5 separate regions of the Homo sapiens genome follow, and regions 2, 3, 4 and 5 are each linked to region 1. Evidence: promoter capture Hi-C in 16 types of primary human blood cells and fetal thymus (Javierre and others, 2016). All regions are on one chromosome and are shown on one strand. The core of a region is centred on a gene start or on the middle of the fragment in contact, and the rest is flanking DNA. Distances in the headings are between cores, read along the strand shown. Region 1 holds the start of ARHGAP17 (Rho GTPase activating protein 17). Region 2 overlaps LCMT1 (leucine carboxyl methyltransferase 1). Region 3 overlaps SLC5A11 (solute carrier family 5 member 11). Region 4 overlaps LCMT1 (leucine carboxyl methyltransferase 1). Region 5 overlaps AQP8 (aquaporin 8).

What was found. The method cuts DNA at HindIII sites, captures the fragments that hold promoters and counts their contacts. A CHiCAGO score of 5 or more calls a contact.
Region 2: a fragment that was not itself captured here is called in contact with the fragment with the promoter of ARHGAP17 in region 1 in 1 of 17 cell types (monocytes); the score reaches 5.3 in monocytes.
Region 3: a fragment that was not itself captured here is called in contact with the fragment with the promoter of ARHGAP17 in region 1 in 1 of 17 cell types (endothelial precursors); the score reaches 5.1 in endothelial precursors.
Region 4: a fragment that was not itself captured here is called in contact with the fragment with the promoter of ARHGAP17 in region 1 in 1 of 17 cell types (neutrophils); the score reaches 5.6 in neutrophils.
Region 5: a contact is called between a fragment that was not itself captured here and the fragment with the promoter of ARHGAP17 in region 1, in 14 of 17 cell types (total CD8 T cells, M2 macrophages, naive B cells and 11 more). The highest score is 8.5, in total CD8 T cells.

Annotation. Positions count from the first base shown.
Region 1 is chr16:25,013,704-25,018,224 of GRCh38, reverse strand. ARHGAP17 (Rho GTPase activating protein 17) reads left to right here and starts at 2,856. Exons shown (of 20, transcript NM_001006634.3): 1 at 2,856-3,016. The coding sequence starts at 2,964. It also overlaps the pseudogene LOC100421171. RefSeq lists silencers at 2,718-2,967, 3,048-3,097, 3,158-3,207, 3,268-3,317 and enhancers at 2,631-3,299, 3,300-3,968. The HindIII fragment of the contact is 8,408 bases long and covers 1-4,521 here.
Region 2 is chr16:25,177,552-25,181,619 of GRCh38, reverse strand. It overlaps LCMT1 (leucine carboxyl methyltransferase 1), which reads right to left. Exons shown (of 11, transcript NM_016309.3): 11 at 3,392-3,619. The coding sequence ends at 3,597. Among named protein-coding and RNA genes, the nearest start is that of LCMT1-AS2, 31 kb to the right of the region's middle. The HindIII fragment of the contact is 3,676 bases long and covers 675-4,068 here.
Region 3 is chr16:24,845,997-24,849,974 of GRCh38, reverse strand. SLC5A11 (solute carrier family 5 member 11) reads right to left here. Exons shown (of 17, transcript NM_001352248.3): 1 at 3,963-3,978; 2 at 3,537-3,743. Among named protein-coding and RNA genes, the nearest start is that of SLC5A11, 2.0 kb to the right of the region's middle. The HindIII fragment of the contact is 1,433 bases long and covers 1,973-3,405 here.
Region 4 is chr16:25,155,225-25,159,641 of GRCh38, reverse strand. All of the region lies in intron 5 of LCMT1 (leucine carboxyl methyltransferase 1), which reads right to left. Among named protein-coding and RNA genes, the nearest start is that of LCMT1-AS2, 8.4 kb to the right of the region's middle. The HindIII fragment of the contact is 1,321 bases long and covers 2,023-3,343 here.
Region 5 is chr16:25,224,270-25,228,482 of GRCh38, reverse strand. It overlaps AQP8 (aquaporin 8), which reads right to left. Exons shown (of 6, transcript NM_001169.3): 4 at 3,907-4,121; 5 at 1,281-1,415; 6 at 1-39. Among named protein-coding and RNA genes, the nearest start is that of AQP8, 9.4 kb to the right of the region's middle. The HindIII fragment of the contact is 230 bases long and covers 2,398-2,627 here.

The DNA.
Region 1 (4,521 bases), core at 1,607-4,106:
TCCCTCCTCAAGATTACCTTTGATTATTTTCATTTGAAATATCTCCAATTCTAGTACCATAATAGTATCTACCATTCTAGGCTCAGCCACAGGGGCAGTTAGACTTTGTTGTCCTCTGAGTCATTTCAATTCTTCTATCAGATTTTTTTTTCTTTCATGGATGCAAGACATCTGTCTTTTTCCTCTATGGTTTGCTATGAAATTTCTTTCTTTCTTTCTTAAGGTTTTAGTATAATAATTCCTCTGGAAGCTCTGAACTTCCTTTAAGTTTTTTTTTAAAAAAATTGCTTTCTCTCTTATAAGTTGTGTCAATTGCTTCTGCTCTTCTCAACTAGATGACAAAATCAAATCAGTCTCTGATTGTCTTCTTGGAGGGATCTAATGGTTGCATCTTTTTCCTGCAGCGATTTTCTTAGCTCTTCAATCTCTTGGAGTAAATTTAGGAGCACTTTTTCTTTAGTTTCTTTATGGTCAGTGTCCATCTGTTTAATATTCTTTTTTTTTTTTTGAGACAGTAACCTTGTCACGTTGTCTCTGTCACCTTGACTGGACCACCCTGTCACCTAGGCTGGACCACCCTGCAGAGGCCAGATCTCAGCTCACTGCAACCTCTGCCTCCAAGGTTCAAGCGATTGTCTCGTCTCAGCTTCCCCAGCAGCTGGGATTACAGGCGCCCGCCACCACGCCTGACTAATTTTTGTATTTTTAGTAGAGACTGGGTTTCACCATGTTGGCCAGGCTGGTCTTGAACTCCTGACCTCAGGTGATCCACCTACCTCGACCTCCCAAAGTGCTGGGATTACAGGTGTGATGCATTGCACCCAGCCTCAATATTCTTTTTGAGTGCTGACATTTCAGAGTCTTTCTCGTGGCTGAGTTTAATTACACACTCTTGCTCTAGCTGTAAGGCAGAGCTCTCCAGGTTAGCTTCAGTGGACAATCTTTTCATGGTTTTCTCAGAGTTGTTTCTTCCAATAGCCTCTTTTCAGCTAGGGGTCTCACTCTGTCACCCAGACAAGAGTGCAATGGTGTGATAATAGCTCACTGCAGCCTCAAATTCCTGGGCTCAAATGATCCTGTTGCCTCAGCCTTTCAACTAGTTGGGAGTACAGGTGCATGCCACTGCTTCTGGCCTTTTTTTTTTTTTTAAATTTTTCATAGAGATGAGGTTTTAGTATGTTGTCCAGGCTAGTCTCATACTCCTGAGCTCAAGTGATCTTCCCATCTTGACCTCCCAAAGTGCTAGGATTACAGGTGTGAGCCACTGCACCTGGCCCCAGAAGATAATTTTTTATTTGTCTTTTACTCTATGTTCAAATTCTTCAATTTTTTGGTAGACTCTACTTTTTCAATTTGTAGAGCTTGCATGAATAGTGTTTTCCTTCTCTTGAAGTTTAGAGAGATCATGTACTGTAATTCCTGAGCCACCTTGCTGTAACAAATTTTCCAGTTCTTCAATCTTTTCTTCCTAATTGCTTAGATTTTCTTGATGCTTACAACTTATTTCCCTCAATTTCTGTTGATGAACATTCTGTAATACTGATAATTCAAGCTGATGGTCATCAGTATCCTGACTTCTTTTTTGTTTGAGCTCCTTGATGATATTAATATTTGGTGTTTGTAGTTTGTAGATTTCATTTTCATCAAAACTAGTTGTTCCTCCTATTTTATAAGTCTGAGCAATACATTTCCAATGGCCAACTGGAGACTCAAGTTTTAGAACTTCATTGGACTATCTGTTTATTTCTTGTTATGATGAAATTATGTCATAAAAACCCATGTAAGCGTCGTGGAACACTGAAGCATGATGGGTACCACATGGAATGGAGGGGATGCAGTGTGGATGGGAACCTCCGGCCTTCCCTGAATGTGCTGACTCCAGGGCTGGCTGCCGGTCCTGCAACCGATCCTGTAGTGCTTGCTTTCTTGTTTTAGGAAGGCTCATTTCTACCTCTTTCTGTTGTAATTGATGTCGATAACTTTTAGTTTGCTGCCCTATCTGAAGCTCTGATGCTTCCTAGGTCTCTCCTAGGTCACTAAAAAGATCTTGAAGTCCCTCATTCTTTGATATTAAGAATTCCAAACTGGCATCAGTCTCCTTTATCCCATAGTTAGGGAGCTCTTTCCTTTTTCTATGACATTTAGGAGCACATTTGAGATGTGGCTGATGAAAGAAGCCACATTGCTGCCCATCCAATGCAAAGAAGGGGCTTACCTGGAGCCAAGGCCACCAAACCAGGAAGACATGAGTGTGTGAGCACGTGTGTTAAGGAAAACACACATTGACTTTAATTTTTTTTTTTTTTTTTTTTTTCGAGACAGGGTCTCTCACTCTGTTGCCCAGGCTGGAGTGCAGTGGCGCCATCTCGGCTCACTGCAACCTCTGCCTTTCGGGTAAAAGCCGTTCTCCTGCTTCAGCCTCCTGAGTAGCTGGGATTACAGGCGTCCACCACCACGCCCAGCTAAATTTGTATTGTTAGTAGAGACAGGATTTCACCGTGTTGGCCAGGCTGCTCTCGAACTCCCGAGCTCAAGTGATCTGCCCCCTCGGCCTCCCAAAGTGCTGAGATTACAACGTTGAACCACTGCGCCCTGCTAGAAACAGCTTTTCATACGTTGAAATAAACGAGAGGGTGACCGGGCAGCGTTGGGGTCGGGGAGGCCAGGCGGAGGAGGCCTAGTGGTCTTCTCGCCCGGGGCCTTCTAGCTCTTCGCCCGTGTCAGGTAAGGCACTGTTAGCCTCGGCTCGGTTCGACTCGGCTCTACTCGGGCTCAGCTCGGCTCGGCCAGACCTAGAGGGCGGGCGGGCGGTGCCACTGGAAGTGACGAGGCGAGGGCGGGGCCGCCGGCCCGGGGAGCCACCGCCGCGCCGCCGTTTGGGCCGGGAAGCGATGTAGTAGCTGCCAGGCTGTCCCCCGCCCTGCCCGGCCCGAGCCCCGCGGGCCGCCGCCGCCACCGCCGCCATGAAGAAGCAGTTCAACCGCATGAAGCAGCTGGCTAACCAGACCGTGGGCAGGCGAGTGCGCCGGGCAGCACGGGGGTCGCACCGGGGCTGGGGGCGGAGGGCGGAGGGCGCGGGGGCGGGACGGCTCCTCCGCGGTCCGGCGGCTCTGAGCTGGGCCGCAGCCCCTGCCCGAGACCAGCGGGGCACGGGCCCGGGGGCTGCGCCGCGCTGAGGCCCGAGCGCCGCGCTCCAGGCGGCCCGCCTGTCTCTCAGCGCCGCCGGGCTCCCGAGACCTGCAGGGGAGGGCCGCCGCCTCCTCCGCCACACCGCGGGGTCCCCTGCCCATTGTCCCTGCCCCGGGAGCATCGCCCTCGGGGAGTAGACCCGGTCCTTCTCCTCCCTTCCCGGGGGCCGAGCCAGCTGGGATCGCTGCCCTGGGCTCAACAACGGTGACTTCTGTCCCTAACGCTGTGCCGAGCGCTGTGCTGTGGGGGGCGGCAGTCCCAGGCTTTCCCGGTGCTCCCGCTGTTTGCGAGTCCTTCTCCTGTAAGTGCATGGCGGCAAGAAATGGCTAGAGGGACATGAAAGCCAGCCGGATTTGCTCAGTGAGTTCAGAACGCCCTTTGAGGGAATTCGGAGGTGGTGCTGTCTCAAAACCAGGGCTCCTAGGAACTGGACTGCTGCTGCCAGTTCTTGACATTTAGAAATTAGGAATTGGCGGAAAAGGATTATGGAGACGCCTTGCGCCAATTTAAAAAGTCTCACCTTAGGTTTGGAAACAAATGCTTCTTTATCTTCCTTTGCTACGGTTGAAGTGCTTAACAAGAAACGTTATTGATTATTAAATGGCAGGCTAGACCAGAGTTGGTAGATCAGGTTGTCAGAACAAGAAATGATTTGTGGTTTTTGAGAGTTTCTGGAGGTGACTGTCATGTGCTGTATTATCTGGGGCTAATATTTCAAGGTCTTTCAGGGCAGCTGGCTGTACTGTACCGATTTAGTGTTTATTCAGCAAAGAGATACGAAAGTATGAATTTCTCACAGCTCTTCTTTTGATTTTCTGTTTTTAACAGTTAAGGGGAGTTTGGTTTGGCTGAAGCACGTGGGACACTTCTTTTTTTTGAGTGTATGAAAATACTTTTACTTCCTCTCGAGTTTTCTAAATTTGCTTTTTACTGTTTCATTTCCTCCATCTTTTTGCTTAGTTTCCTTGTTTAATTTTTTCGATTCCCTACCGTATTATTGTGGTGAGAATTAACTCTTATTTTCAGGGTTAATCGCTGCCCCTAAAGCCCAGACAAACCTACTTTTCTGTTATTTGCAGGAAAATTAAAGAAATAATGCTGAGAGGAAGGTAGACGTGTGGTAATGGCGGCTGATGTTTCAAGGAACAGTTTACAAGCACATGATAATTTCTTGTGAGTTTCGTACCCTTGTTAGTGTTCTGAGCAACGTGCATTGTGGAACTAGTATTTAGTAAGTGCCAAGATACATTTGTCAAATAGTCGTTTGGCTTGTTTTTACATTGTTCGTGACAGGTAAGGGACTTTCACTCTTTTTATACAAAGTTCTGAGAC
Region 2 (4,068 bases), core at 1,263-3,762, 160 kb before region 1:
AGACGGCTTCTTTCCTTAAACCTCAGGAACCAACCTCTGCTAGCTTCCAACTTTTCTTCTGCAGCTTCCTCTCCTCTCTCAGCCATCACATAATTGAAGAGAGTTAGGGCCCTGCTCTCGATTAGGCTTTGGCTTAAGGGAAGGTTGTGGCTGGTTTGATCTTCTATACAGACCGCTCAAACTTTCTCCATATCGGTAATAATACAGTTTCGCTTTCTTATCATTCATGTGTTCACTGGAGTAGCACTTTTTCATTTCCTCCAAGAACTTTTCCTTTGCATTCACAACTTGGCTGTTTGGCACAAGAGGTCTAGCTTTCGGCCTATTTCAGTTTTTTTTTTTTTTTTTTTTTTTTTCAGATGGAGTCTCACTCTGTCACCCAGGCTGGAGTGCAGTGGTGCCATCTTCGCTCACTGCAACCTCTGCCTCCCAGGTTCAAGCGATTCTCCTGCCTCAAACTCCCAAGTAGCTGGGACTACAGGCGCCTGCCACCACACCAGGCTAATTTTTGTACTTTTAGTAGAGATGAGGTTTCACTATGTTGGCCAGGCTGGTCTCAAACTCCTGACCTCAGGTGATCCGCCCACCTCGGCCTCCCAAAGTGCTGGGATTACAGGCATGAGCCACCACAGCCGACCCTATTTCAGCTTTTGACGTGCCTTCCTCACCAAGCTTAATCATTTCCAGCTTTGATTTAAAGTGAAAGGCATGTGACTCTTTGTGACTCTTCCTTTCACTTGAGCATGTAGAGGCCATTGTAGGGTTATTAACTGGCCTAATTTCAATATCAAATTTGGAATAGGACGGATGGGAGGATCACTTGAACCCGAGTTCAAGACCACCCCTGGCAACATAGGGAGACCCTGTCTCCACAAAAAAAGTTAAAAATAGCCAGGCTTGCTGGTGTGTGCCTGTGGTTCAGTTACTCAGGAGGCTGAGGAAGGAGGATCACTTGAGCCCAAGGAGGTTGAGGCTGCAGAGAGCTATGACTGCACTACTGCACTCCAGCCTGGGAGATGGGGCAAGACCCTTTCTGAAAACAACAACAACAAAAAGTAAACATTGTGGGGCCAGGCACGGCGGCTCACGCCTGTAATCCCAGCACTTTGGGAGGCCGAGGCAGGTGGATCACGAGGTCAGGAGATAGAGACCATCCTGCCTAACGTGGTGAAACTCCATCTCTACTAAAAACACAAAAAAAATTAGCTGGGCATGGTGGCGGGCTCCTGTAGTCCCAGCTACTTGGGAAGCTGGGGCAGGAGAATGGCGTGAATCCGGGAGGTGGAGCTTGCAGTGAGCTGAGATCGCGCCACTGCACTCCAGGCTAGGTGACAGAGCAAGACTCCGTCTCAATAAAAAAAGTAAACATTGTTTCTGCTAATGCTATACATATACCAGAGTTACCCCTTTCCTGTGGTTTTGTTTTCCAAGGTTTCCGTTACCTGAGGTCAGTTGAGGTCCAAAAATAAGTGAGTATAGCTAAGATATTTTCTTTTTTTCCAAGATGGAGTCTTGCTCTGTCATCCAGGCTGGAGTGCAGTGGCGCAATCTCGGTTCACTGCAACCTCTGCCTCCTGGGTTCAAGCAATTCTCCTGCCTTACAGATGCCTGCCACCAAGCCCGGATTTTTTTTTTTTTTTTTTTGTATTTTTAGTAGAGACAGGGTTTCACCATGTTGGCCAGGCTGGTCTTGAACTCCTGACCTTGTGATCTGCCCATCTCAGCCCCCCAAAGAGCTGGAATTACAGGCGGCGGGGCGGTGGGGGGGGGGTTTCACCATGTTGGCCAGGCTGGTCTCGAACTCCTGACTTCAGGATCCACCTGTCTTGGCCTCCCCAAGTGCTGGGATTACAGGCGTGCACCACTGCACTCGGCCAGTTAAGATATCTTCAAAGACCACATTCACATAACCTTAACATATTGCTATAGTTGTTCTTTTTTAAATTGTTGCTAGTCTTACTGCACCTAATTTATACATTTTATCACAGGTATTTATTGATAGGAACACATCCCATCAACTGGCATGCCACTAGAGGTGCAGGGCCCACACTCTAGGGGACACTGATTTAAGGATTCTGAATGGTAGAAGAGAGGCTGTTACCTCTCCAGCAGAGGAGAGCGCTGGGGACTTCTGCAGTGCCACCCTGCACATGCAGGTTCAGGCTCGCAGCGCCAGTCACATAACTTAAGAAGTCCCTGTAGACAAGGTCTACCCATCACTCAGGGAGTTCAGCAGACAGGTATGGGACAAGCCTTATGTTTCTGAAATATGAGGTCATCACTCAGGGGCCCTATGAACCTGTCTCATAACTGCATTGACTTCTAGTTGTGGCTGTAAGTTTAAGCCCCCAACTTGGTGGCTCAAAACACCACAGATCAGTCTGGGCACAGAGGCTCATGCCTGTAATCCCAGCACTTTGGGAGGCCAAGACGGGCGGATCACTTGAGGTCAGGAGTTCGTGACCAGCCTGGCCAACATGGTGAAACTCTATCTCCACTAAAAATACAAAAATTAGACAGGCATGATGGTATGCACCTGTAATCCCAGCTACTTGGGAGGCTGAGGCGGAAGAATCACTTGAACCCGGGAGGCAGAGGGTGCAGTGAGCCGAGATCGCGCCACTGCACTCCAAGCCTGGGCAACAGAGCAAGACTCCATCTAAAAAAAAGAAAAAAAAAAAAAAAAAACCACCACCACAGATGTATTCTCTTACGGCTCTGGAGGTGAGAAATCTGAAATCGATTTCTCTGGGCTAACATCAAGGTGTTGGCAGGCAGTTCCAGCTGGAGGCCAAGGGAGGGTCTGCTGCTATTGCCCTAGGTAGCATCCCCTGGTTGCCCCTGCTTCTTGTCTGGGCCCCTCTGACTCTGACGCCTCGTCTGTCCCTCTAATGAGGACCCCGTGATCCTATCAGGCCCACCTGGATAACCCAGGACCACCTCTTCATCTCAAACCCCTAATCCCATTTGCAAAGCCCCTTTGCCACAGAAGGTAACACACACTCACAGGTTCTGGGGATCAGGACATGGACACTTTAGGGGCCATTCTTCAGCCTGCCACCATGACCAAGATGAAGGAGGCAACTGAGCAGGCCAGTGTGGCCAGGGCGGAGACAGGAGCCCGAGAAGAGCACTAGCCTCACATCTGGTGGAGGACAAGGGTCAGGGAGTGAGGCACAATGTCATGTGCTGCAACAAACAGCATGTGAGGGAGTAGATCCTAAAATGGACTCAAGGTCATGGGCCGGGTGTGACTCACAGGGAGTAAGCCAAGGTCAAAGCAGACTTGGGGTCCTTGGCTTTAGCTAACACAGAGGTGAACCCTGGCCCGCCCAAGCCATGGGGCACGGAACGAGCAGCGGCAGCCAGCAGAGGTCCAACCACAGGCGACTGGTGGCAAGTGAGATTTATTTAAACAACGACATGTCAACAGGAACAGGAAGAGGAACATGTGCGACCACTGTAGTGACCAAGGCTTCTCAAGAGTGTGGGATGAGACCTGCGGACGAGGCCCGCCCACCGCTCAGGGAGCTTGCAGGTCTCCTCCAGGAGGGCAAGTGGCTTCGGCTTCTGGCTCGGCATAAGCCTTCGACAGATTAATAAGTTATCTCCTTCAGCCCTGAGGGGAGAGACACACAGACACCATTAGGAGACTCTGGTGGCCAGGAGCAGAGGCCCCTAGAGGACCCCCAGTGACCGGCTCAGGGGCACCAGCCACACTGCTGACCACTGTAGCACCGCCCTCCTGCTACATAAAATGAGGTTTCGCAAGGAAACAAAAGGTTGGGTAAGACTGTGTTTATGGGTGGTTTTAAAATGATTAAGAAAACATTATAACAGTTTATGGACTGTCTGCAGTTAACGCCAAAAATCTACCCTTTATGTGCTGAACTTTGAGCAAAGGCAGATACGGATCTTCCACACACACAGACAAGCACTGATGTCCCAAAGCAGTCACGGGTCAGTGGGGACAAAGTAAATTCCTGACATTAAAATGCTCAATATATTGTTCCTTTGTGAGAACTAGAGTTCACTTAAAAGTATTACAAATAACCTACATTTCCAAAA
Region 3 (3,978 bases), core at 1,440-3,939, 170 kb after region 1:
CAAATAATAGATAATAATAATGATAATAAAATAAAAAATTTTAAAAAGACATCTCAGGATTTGAGGCTGAAGCAGAGGCCAGGATCACCCCTAGTCCGTTAGCAAGAGCCACGGCTTCAGGTATCTGGAAATAAATTCTAGGCATGGCAGGGCAGGGCAGCGTTCCCTGAATGGTCCACAGCAGGGTAACAGGGCATATGCCCAGTGAGTGCAGGGGACCCGGCAGAGCGTTGTCCTTCACCTGCCTTTCAGGGATGATCTTGTCTCATTATTCCAGAGAGAATAGACATCACAGAGCACCTTCTGAGCCCAGACCTGTCCATCCAAATGCCAACGTGGCATCTCTCATGGATATATATATATATATATATATATATATATTTTTTTTTTTTTTTTTTTTTTGCCCCCAAGGCAGAGTCTCGCTCTGTTACCCAGGCTGGAGTGCAGTGGTGCAATCTCTGCTCACTGCAACCTCTGCCTCCCGGGTTCAAGCGATTCTCCCGCCTCAGCCTCCCGAGTAGCTGGGATTACAGGCATGTGTCACCACGCCTGGCTAATTTTTGTGTTTTTAGTAGAGATGGGGTTTCACCATGTTGCCCAGCTTGTCTTGAACTCCTGACCTCGGGTGATCCACCCGCCTCGGCCTCCCAAAGTGCTGGGATTACAGGCGTGAGCCACCGTGCCCGGCTTCTCATTGTTACTTAATAGATGTCTGAAAGTTCACACGTGCGAGTTACAGACCAAGCTTTCCAGCCCAAGCACGTGCTTCTTCCAGTCTTCCCCACCTCACTAAATGACAGCTGCAGCCACTCTGCCACTCCTGCCAGAAACCTGAGTCATCTATAAGGCATTAGTCCATTTGTTCACTTATCAAGTGGTCTGTGAGCACCTCTATGTGCCAGGCACTACATCTAAGCACCAAGAGTGCCTGGTATGTAAATGTCTCATCGAAGAATTTATAGCATCTCTTTCTCACCTCCCAGAATCTATTCACTCCCAATTCCATTCTCTCTTACTTCCAAAACATAATAAATCCACACATTTTCCCTCATTTTTAGTGCTATCACCCTTGTCTGAGCCACCATCACTTCTGTCTAGGTTAGAGAAAGACCCTCCAGTCTTACCTCCCCGATATCCATTCTTCCTTCCTTTTTATTTTATTATTTTATTTTTGTTTTAATTTACTTAATTTTTAGAGACAGGGTCTTGTTCCCTTGACCAAGCCGCAGTGCAATGGTGCCATCAGAGCTCACTGTGGCCTCAAACTCTCGAACATCTGTGCTCAAGGGATCCTCCCACCTCCGTCTCCCAAGTAGGTGGGACCACAGGTACATGCCAACATGCCTAGCTAATTTTTTATTTTTTGAGACAGGGTTTCACTCTGTTGCCTGGGCTAAAGTGCAGTGACACAAACACAGCTCCTGCAGCCTCAACCCCATGGGCTCAAATGATCCCTGCACAGTGCTGGGATTACAGGTGTGAGCCACCATGCCTGGCCTCCAGCTAACTTCTTATTTTGTAATTTTTTTGTAGAGACGGGGTCTTGCTATGTTGCCCAGACGGGTCTCAAACTCCAGGCCTCAAGCAATCCTCCCAACTTGGCCTCCCAAAGCACTGAGGTTGCAGGCATGAGCCACCTCACCCAGCCTTGCTTCCTTTTAATCCGCCCCTCACACGGAAGCCAGAGAAATCTTTAAGTATGAGTCAGATCAGATCATTTTCCTGCTCAAAACATCTCCATGCTGCTGGGGTGCTTTGTTGTGCTTCCAACCCCACCACATACTAGCATTCATTTTATTCCTGGAACACGATTTCTGGCCTCAGGGTCTTTGCCATTCTGTTCCCTCTGCCTGGGATGCTCTTCCCTGCACTCTTTGCTGGACAAGCTCCTACTCATCCTTTAGATGTCAGCCTGCTGTATATCCCCAAAGGAGCCCCCTCTTGGCCTCAATATAAATTGGGTCCCCAAGCTTTTTGCTTTCATGGCAAACACAACTTCTCATCACAGTCTAATCAAGTGTAACACTTGATGTGTGTGATTACCCCTTGTCTGCACTGCACAGCAAGCCCCATAAAGAAAGGTCCATGTCTCTGTCACTCTCATTGTGTCCCCAAAACAGGCATGCAATAAATGTTGGTACAACAAATAAATGTGGGATTTTTAGAGCCTTTGCTATAGATCCTTTGCACGCTGTGACCGCCCAAAAAAGGGACAGCATTTTTCCAAGTCCTATCTGCAGGATGCCCAATGGGCTAGGACACTTCTGTCAACTATTGCCCAGAATAATTCAGCAGAACACCATTTGAAAACCACTGATTGGTAGGGTGCAGTGGCTCATGCCTGTAATCCCAGCACTTTGCAAGGCTGAGGCGGGAGAATCGCTTGAGTTCAGGAGATTGAGACCAGCCAAGGCAACACAGGGAGACCCCATTTGTACAAAAAATAAAAATAAAAAAGTTAGCAGGGCATGCTGGTGAGCTATGATAGTACTACATTTCAGCCTGGGCAACACAGAGAGACCCTGTGAAAGAAAAGACAGAAAAGAAACGAGAGAGAGAGAGAACAGAAAACACACACAGAGAGAGAGAGGAGGCAAAGAAGGAAAGAAGGAAGGAGAAAGGGAAAGAAAGGAAGAAATAAATAATAAAAGAGAGAGAAGAAAGAAAGAAAGAAAGAAAAAAGGGAAAAGAAAGAGAAACAGAGAGGTGGGAGGGAGGGAAGGAAGGAAAGAAGGAAGGAGAAAGAAAGGGAAAGAAAGGAATAAGGAAAGAAATAAAAGAAAGAAGGAAAGAAAGAAAGAACAAAGAAAAGAAAGGAAAAGAAAGAAAAAGAAAGAAAGAGAAAAAGAAAGAAAGGAAAGAAAAAGAAAATCACTGATATTGTGGCTGAGCTCATGGCCACAGGAATTGAGTCTTGGCTTGGCCACTCACTATCTGTATTACCTTGAGCAAGTTATTTAATGACCCTTAGACTCTGTCCATGAATTAGGGGGTGCTGTACCTACCTTACAGGGTTTCTGTGTCAGTTAGATGAGATCCAGGCGTAAAGTTCTCTGCACGTGTCTGACACGTACCAGTGAAGACTTGTATTTGCCTTGTAGTTAACAGCAGCTGCAGTTGTAGTAAATACATTCCTATAGCTTTTTAATGCTTATGTGGATACATTTACCTTCGTTATCTCTGGGTAACACACCTGTGGGGTGGGTCAGCCTGAGGTTCATATTCCCATTTGACAGATAAGGAACCTGAGACTCGGTGAGGCAAAATGTTTGGCTCAATGTCCCTGACCTTGGTTAAGTGGAAGAGCTGGGACCCACGTACGGTGCTGCTGGCTGCCGGCTGCTGGCTTCATACCACCATGCCCACCCCACAAACACACTCCATTGTCCTGGTGTATGACAAGCTTTCTCTGCAGAGAGGGCTGAGCTTCCCCTGCCCCACAGGTGACAGCTGGAGTCCTTCTGCCAGCACCTGTCCCCAGACCAACTTCCCAGTTTGGAGAGTGGCTACCTGTTTGGGGGCAGGGGGTGTCTTACCTTATTCCAGATGCAGGGCTCACCTGCCCTGGGGGCTGTCAGTGGCTTCTAAGGCACTAGGAGGTGGCGGTGGTTGTAAGGAGGGAGATACCCGGGATCCTCTCTCTTTGCAGCCAAGAGCTTCCGGAGACAGCAGTGACCCTTCCTCCTATATGCCCGCTGCTGAGAGAGCCTCCAAGCGGGTCAAACTCCAAACTCCAGCCTCAGCTGCAGCGGGGATTAAAGGAAGCGTGAATGATCTCCCCAGGGCAGAAGAGAGAACGGGGCCCAGCCCAGGACCCTTGAACTCTGAGCAGGTGGGGAAGGTGACATGTCCCACGCTCTGCCCACACCGTCCTCCACCAGGGTCCTCACCTGCGTGGGGACCCATGGCATGGAGGGGTTGGGGAGACGCTGGAGCCCAAGGCACCATCCTGCTTCACTCACCCAGTCTTCCACTGTC
Region 4 (4,417 bases), core at 1,434-3,933, 140 kb before region 1:
AAAGGGCAAGCAGGGAACCCAAAGTTGGCCCCAGGGTGTCACGAGTCAGGAAAGTAATATAAAGAATATGGCATGTATCTGGGTGCGGTGGCTCACGCCTATAATCCCAACAACTTGGGAGGCCCAAGCAGGAGGATGGCTTGAATGAGGAGTTCAAGACCACCCTGGGCAACACAGCAAGACTGTCTGTACAAAAAAATTTAAAAAATTAGCTAGGTGTGGTGGCATATGCCTGTAGTCCCAGCTACTCCGGAGGCTGAGGTGTGATGGCTTGAGCCCAGGAGCTCAAGGCTGCAGTGAGCTATGATCGTGCCTCTGCACTCCAGCCTGGGCAACAGAGCAAAGACCTTGTCTCTACAAAATAAAAGAATACGAAGGTAGTTGCCTACCCTATTAGGAAAATAATTCCAAAATGCCTGTGTAACTTCTTGCAAATAACAAATATATTAATAATAAGCACATTTGGAATGAGTTTTTCCATCCCTGGCCAAACAACAACAAATAATACACCAGAATATTAACACATGAAGTCTAGTACCATGTAGTTCAGGGGAGATCTCTCTTACTCACATTAGGATCTAACATTAGCATGTAAAGCAAAAATCACACATCATCATGATTATTCTTGTAAGTTGTACACAAGGTACATCTGAGCTGAAGGGAGTCAGTGACTTGAGGCTCACCCGCCACTCTGCAGTGGCCCAGCCGTATGTGGTGGCATACTGGTATACCACATGGGAAGCACTGGACAAGACGACCTTGAGATCCCTTTGAATGATAGAATTTGATGACTTGAGTAACTCACACCAGCATCCCATGATTCAGTTGCTCTTCTTAAGTCAGGGGCTACTCAAGCTGTAGGGAAATAACAGGTCCATTATCTGTCCTTGAAGGATGCTTTATCATTATTTTGTAGGGAACTGAATGTATTTGTGGAGGACAGGCTCAGAGCAAGTTTCGAAGGAGTTTTATAATTCTGGGAAAATAAAGCCATTTGTATAAAATCTAGCACTGGCAAGAGGCCATGAGAACAGAAAAATCCTTATCTGTCTGGAATGCTTCTGAGAGCTGGTGGGAAAGATAACTTGGTTGCCAAAATGAGATCTACAATCCCTTCTTTTCCTACATTCTATTTCGTGAGAGAAAAATGTAAGGCAACTGAAATCATTTTGTGTGATACTTACAGAACTTTCTAAAGAAACAGACCGGCCGGGCGCAGTGGCTTATGCCTGGAATCCCAGCACTTTGGGAGGCCAAGACAGGCGAATTGCTGAAGGCCAGTTCGAGACCAGCCTGGCCAGAATCTCTACTAAAAATACAAAATTAGCCAGGCGTGGTGGTGCACACCTGTAATGCCAGCTACTTGAGAGGCTGAGGCATGGGAATTGCTTGAACCCAGGAGGCGGAGGTTGCAATGAGCTGAGAGTGTGCCACTGCACTCCAGCCTGGGTGACAAATCAGAGCAAGACTCTGTCTCAAAAAAAGAAAAAAGCAAGTATTGTGCCAATGTGGATGTGGAACACAGGGGTGGTGTCCAATCTGATTCCAAGGTGAAGCTGTAAAGTGCCCTACAGGGCACGCATCTCAGGAAGCAATTCTGGGTGTTTAAGAATGAAGTAAAAATGGTATTTTTATTTCATTTTATGTGTACTTTTTTTTCAAATGACTAATAAGTTGTTAGGACATAAATACTTCAGCTGTTTAAACCCAACTAATTAAAAAGAACTGCTGAGTGTGTTTTTTGGCTCAGGGGTACTATGAAAACATTACTGAGACAAATTACTGGGAAGCAAGAAAGGTGGGGACCCCCTGGCCTAGCCCAATGCCTGCTACACAGCAGAGGTCTTCTGTGAAGATGACCACAAGTGATTAAATCCAGGCAGGTGCTGGAATGAGCCCAGCTGAGAAGTTCCACCTGAATGAACCCAACCCAAAGAATTGTGAGCTAAATAGATGGTTGTTGTTTTAAGCCACATGCTTTGCAGCAGTTTGTTACAGCGCAGAAGCTAATGGATACAAGCTTTAATTATCTGCCTCATTAAGTTTATATACTTTATCGTCCTAATCAGTTTTTTTTTTATTGTTGTTGCTGGTTTTTTTTGAGACAGCGTTGCATTGTATCACCCAGGTTGCAGTGCGGTGGCACGATCATGGCTCATTACAGCCTCGACCCCCCAGGCTGCCTCAGCTTCCTGTGTAGCTGGGACCACAGACGTGCACCACCATGCCTGGCTAATTTTTTTTATTATTTGTATAGATGGGGGGTGGGCGGGTCTCCTTATGTTGCCCAGGCTGGTCTTGAACTCTTGGGCTCAAGGGATCCTCCTGCCTCTGCCTCCCAGAGTAATGGGATTATAGGTGTGAGCCACCAAGCCAGTCTTAAACACTTTTAAGAGGTGATTAGGTCATGAGGTGAAAAGGCATGAGAAAACTGAAGACTTACACAATGTAACACAGTAGTTAAACACATACACACACACACACACACACAAGTGCTGGTGTATCATATGACTAATAATCTCTTCCATCACCGCCAGGTGCATTTCGAGAGATGTGTTGGATCTGTAGTGAACCCCATCAATCCCATTCATGGTATCTTCTATGACAAACTAATTATCATTGTTGATAAGCATTGCAAAGTGACCTTTTAGGTTCACAGATTTTCCTAGGATCCTTCAATTAAAAAAAAAAAAAAAAAAAAGGTAAAATGGAGACAGCCTCAGGCAGATTTCCGGACTGTACAGAGGATTAGTTTGTCTGACCACCCAACTGACACTCATGGGGCACTGAGCCAAGTCCTGGGAATAACTGATGAACAAGAAGACATGGTCCCTGCCCTCATGGGGCTTAAAATCCAGTGGGAAAGAGAGAGAACAAGGGCAAGTGTGGTAAGTTCTACAGAGAAGTTCAGGGTATTGTGGGGCATGTGAAACAGGCTTCTGACTCCCTTTAGAATGGAGTCCAAAATTCTCAGCCGGCTTTATGATCTTTCTCAATCTTGAAGCACGCACCTCCTGCCACCCGAGCCCCAGCCACACTGGCCTTCCCAGCTCTTCCTTCAGTGTGCCCTGGCTGAGATCATCTGTTCCCTAGGTAGTAGGGTCTCCTCCTCACGGCCCAACTGAAATCCTGTTCACATTCTGAAGTGCTTTCACTTGCTGTTCTTTTCTCTTTCTGCCTAATTTCACCAGAGTTGAAGCGGATTACAAAAACACAAACACATTCATCCATTCAAGCAGTCACGTGAGTATTCATTCAACACTGTCTGTGCACTAGGCACTGCTCTTGGTGCAGAGATTACAGTGGTAAACAAGACAGAAGCAGTCCCTGTTCTCAGGAAGCTTACATGGCAGAAGAGGGAGAAAGTGAATCATTAAATAAATGAGTAATCAAGAATATATCAAGGAGCAGTCAGTACCATGAGGAAACTGAAAGAGAAGAGTGTGACATAAGGCGGCAGGAAGGGGGTCTGTCTTTAACCTCGTAGTCAGGGAGGGCCCCTCTGAGGAAGCGGCAGCTGAGCAGATGAGAAGGAGCCCATCAAGCAAAGAGGAGAGAGGAAATGAAAAGGACTGAGGGGAAGAACATTCTTGGCACAGTCAGAGAACAGTAAGATATCTGTGTGGCTAGATCATAGTTACTGTGGTCAAAGGGAAAATCAGGAGCAGGTGCGGGGGCTCACGCCCTTAATCCCAACACTGAGAGGTCGAGGCGGGAGGATTGTTTGACCCCAGGAGTTTGAGACCAACCTGAGCAACATAGCGAGACCCTGTCTCTCCCCAAAAAATTTAAAATCATCTGTGTGTGGCAGCACACAGCTGTAGTCCCAGCTACTCGGGAGACTGTGGCAGGAGGATCACTGGAGCCCAGGAGTTCAAGGCTGCAGTGAGCTGTGACCAATTGCACCACTGTCCTCCAGCCTGAGCAACAACAGAGTGAGACCTTGTCTCAAAAAAAAAAAAAAAGAAAGAAAGAAAGAAAAGAAAGTAAAATCAGGAGGCACGCAGAGGCCTAATGAACAACATGGGTCCTATCCGATAGGGAGTTTTAAGCAAGGAGGTAACAGAACCCAATTTCCCTTTTTCACTCTTTTGAGAGAAAGGGTCATGCTCTGTCACCCAGAATGAAGTGCTGTGGTGCAATCACAGCTCTCTGTAGCCTACAACTCCTGGGCTAAAGGTATCCTCCTGTCTCAGCCTCCCAAGTAGCTAGGACTATAGGCGTGCACCACCATGCCCAGCTAGTTTTTTTTTTATGTTTTTGTGACAGGGTCTCACTAGGTGCCCTCAGCAATGCTCCCACCTCAGCCTTGTGAAGCACTGGGATTACAGGTGTGAGACACCACACCCGGCCTTCCTTTTTAAAAACACCTTCTGACTTTTCATTGTGTGCCCATTTGTACACTTTTGATTTTTTA
Region 5 (4,213 bases), core at 1,263-3,762, 210 kb before region 1:
TTCAGGATGAGGCGGGTCTTCCCATCTCCAATGAAGCACCTGCAAGAAAGATGACCCAGTAAGGTCTCTGCCCCGGAGGTGAGACCCAGCCCTTCGTCATGTCTCCAGGCTCAGAAGTCTCCAGAAAGATGACTTCCTGAGCCTCCCCAGCCTTAATAGCCAGATCCCCTTGCAGAGAGAGAGACAGTTTCCTGCTTGGTTTCTTTTTTTTTTTTTAATTGAGACAGAGTCTCACTCACCCAGGCTGGAGTACAGTAGCATGATCTCAGCTCACTGCAGCTTCCACCTCCTGGGTTCAAGCAATTCTCATACTTCAGCCTCCCGAGTAGCTGGGACTACAGACAAGCACCACCACACCTGGCTGATTTTTGTATTTTTAGTAGAGACAGGGTTTTAACCATGTTGGCCAGGCTGGTCTCCAACTCCTGACTTCAAGTGATCCACCCACCTTGGCCTCCCAAACTGCTGGGATTACAGGCGTGAACCACATGCCCGGGTCCTGCTTGGTTTCTAACCCTTTTCCTGAAGATGCTCATTGCTGCCACTCTGAAAGCCCAGAATTAAATGAAGCCGGGTGCAGTGGCTCACGCCTGTAACCCAGCGCTTTGGGAGGCAGATCACTTGAGGTCAGGAGTTGGAGACCAGCCTGGCCAACATGGTGAAGCCCCATCTCTACCAAAAAAATCACAAAAACTGGCTGGGCGCGGTGGCTCATGCCTATAATCCTAGCACTTTGGGAGGCCCAGGCAGGTGGATCACATGAGGTCAGGAGTTCGAGACCAGCCTGGTCAACACGGTGAAAACCCGACTCTACTAAAAATATAAAAATTAGCTGGGCGTGGTGGCGGCGCCTGTAGTCCCAGCTGCTTGGCAGGCTGAGGCAGGAGAATCTCTTGAACCCGGGGGCGGAGGTTGCAATAAGCCAGAATCACACCACTGCACTCCAGCCTGGGCAACAGAGGGAAACTGTCAAAAAAAGAAAAGGAGAAAGACCAAGTCCTAAAGACATTGTTTGAGCGCCACCTGAAACCACTGCTACCTGTGAAGTTTTTGATGATGTGAGCCAATGAATTCCTCTTTATGACATAAGCTATTTTGAAATAGATCTCTGTCACTTGCAACCAAAGCTCCTAGATGGAGCCATTTTCTTTGCCTCTAAAGAGGCTCCCTCTTTTCTCTTCCAAACCCAAGTGAGAGCCTAGCCCTCTAGTCCCGGACTCTCTGGGAGATGTTGCCAAGTGCCCATCCAATGGGCCGGTGACCCTGTGTCACACTCCTACCTAATGAGCAGTCCAACAAGCAGGCCAGCCAGGAGTGGGCCCAGCCAGTAGATCCAGTGGAAGTTCCAGTGGTTGGCCACCACCGCAGGTCCAAAAGCACGGGCGGGATTCATGCAGCCTCCAGACACAGGGCCCCTGCAAACACCCAGGCACCAAGGTCACCAGGATCCCAGCCAAACCCCACCTCACCTCACACTCATGTCCCCAACTAGGCCTAGTCACACACCACCCAGAAACCCTCTCTAAACTCCTACATCATGAGCTCCTGGGTAGATCCTAAAGAAGGCAGAGGGGCTATTAGCACCAGGAAGCAGAAGGCATGGCTCCCCGCTGGGCGTGCAGTCCAGCACTCCCCACACACTCCTCTAGAATGCCCAGCAAAAATGCCTACTGGGTGATGGCAGGAAGAGAAGCTGGAGCTACATTTGCTCCAAAGTCTACAAAGGAAAGTCAATCAGTTTCAATCCTTTTGGAGTCAAGCTGACCTAGATTCAAAACCCAGCCCACACATTATAAAATAACAAAAAGTGTATCATAGGATTGTTCGTGACCCAAAGAATAAATGCTTGAGGGGATGAATACCCCGTTTACTTTGACGTGATTATTACACATTGCATACCTGTATCAAAACATCTCATGTAACCTCAGCCAGACACAGAGGCTCATGCCTGAAATCCCAGCAGTTTAGGAGGCCAAGGCAGGCAGATCACTTGAGGTCAGGAGTTAGAGACCAGCCTGGCCAACATGGTGAAACCCTGTCTGTATTAAAAATACAAAGTTAGCTGGGAATAGTGGCACACGCCTGTAGTCCCAGCTACTGGGGAGGCTAAGCCAGGAGAATTGCTTGAACCTGGGGGTTGGAAGTTGCAGTGAGCCATGATCATGCCACTGCACTCCAGCCTGGGTGACAGAGCAAGACTCTGTCTCAAAAACTAAAACTAAAAATAAAATAAAATAACGAAGAGTATAAGTGGATTGTTTGTGACACAAAAAATAAATGCTTGAGGGGATGAATACCCCATTCACCTTGATGTGATAATTATGCATTGCATGCCTGTACCAAAACATCTCATGTAACCCAGAAATATATACACCTACTAGGTTCACCCACAAAGCTTTAAAAATATACATATAAAGAAAGAAAAACCCCAGCCCAGATAGTTCTAGGTGTGGGAACCTCCATGAACCTCTCTGTGTTCAGGTGAGGTGAAAGTGACTATCCCATAGGTTGTCATCAGGAGTGAATGAGAAAATGCAAATGGAGCCCACACCTCGAATATAATTAATGTACAAAAAGCATTAACTAATCTAGCTGGTCCAGATGAGGCCCTTGTTGCACCACAAGCTTAAGACCCAGAATCCTACAGGGAGACTCTTCCCCAGGTGCACTCCTCTCGTTCTGGGGCTCTGTCTTTACCCCATTCTCTCCAGCTGGGGGCCTGTAGACCTCATCCCCACCCTGTGTCCAGCTTCGAAGTCAAAAAGCTTGTAAGTAGGCGGGGCGCGGTGGCTCAGCCTGTAATCCCAGCACTTTGGGAGGCCAAGGCGGGCGGATCATGAGATCAGGAAATCGAGACCATCCTGCCTAATACGGTGAAACCCCGTCTCTACCAAAAATACAAAAAAAAATTAGCCGGGCGTGGTGGCGGACGCCTGTAGTCCCAGATACTCGTGAGGCTGAGGCAGGACAATGGCGTGAACCCGGGAAGCGGAGCTAAAAAAAAAAAAAAGGGCTTGTAAGTGAATCAAAGACCACTAGGGGGCAGCAAAGCATGGCCACAGCTTTACACACACATTCCCCAGCCTGCCCCAGGCTCCACCTCCCAAAGTTGAGGGAGAGCTGACCCAGGAGAAAGGTTAGACTTGGTTCTGTGTCCAAAAGAAAGGAAAGAGTCAGACATTAGGGAGGGGCTCCCTGGGCTGGGCACTGTGGCTCATGCCTGTAATTCCAGTACTTTTGAGAGGCCAACGCAGGAGGATGGCTTGAAGCCAGGAGTTCAAGACCAGCCTGGGCAACAGAGCGTGACCCCTATCTCTACAACAAAAATTAAAAGGGTTCACTCAGCCTCTTGTCCCAAATCTATCACTTAATTTGCCACTGCCCACTGACCTTAAATAAGTCACTTCTGTCCTCTCTAAGCCTCAGTTTCCTTATCTATAAAACGGGAGACATCATCCCCAATCTTGTCTACTTAATCCCTTCCAAAGCCTGCTGGGAGTCTAAAAATAAATGAGACAACAGCTACACATGCTCTTTGTAAGCCTGAGGCTAAAACCCGGCTGCCCGCTGACCGAATGAACACAGTTCACAGAAATGTTGTATTTACGCTACCAACATTGGAAAACATCACATACAGATTTAAATTTCTGACTTCCTTTGAATGAAAGCATCAGCCCAGACCCATGTACCCAGCAATAATTGACAAGAGCTGAACTGACTGCAGCACCTCTGACACTGCAGTCCCCACCACTCCCTGTTGTCTGCCTGATGCCAGCCCCCCTCCCCATTTGCAGCACCTTCCTGGCCCCTAATAGCAACTGAATCTGTGACCCTCAGGCCTGAAATCCCCCAGAGCTGAACAGCACAGATCTGGGCATGGTCACCCCACTGCCAAGGGACACTCACCCAGCCAGGATATCCACGGTGACGGCAAAGCCGATGGAGAACGGGGCCAGAGGGCCCTTTGTCTTCTCATTGATGGCACCCATGCATACAGCCAGGGCCAGCAGCGTCGTCAGGATGATCTCTGCCACCAACGCCCCTGCCACCTGCCCCTGCTCCTGGACTGTCACAAAGGCCGCCCCAGATGCATTCCAGAACCTCTCCTCAGGACTCACCGCCTGCACAGAGAAGCTGCTGAGCCTCACAGTGGGGCAGAGAGACAGCTGGAAACTGAGGGGAGAGGGCCTAAAAAACGCATGCTACCCACCTT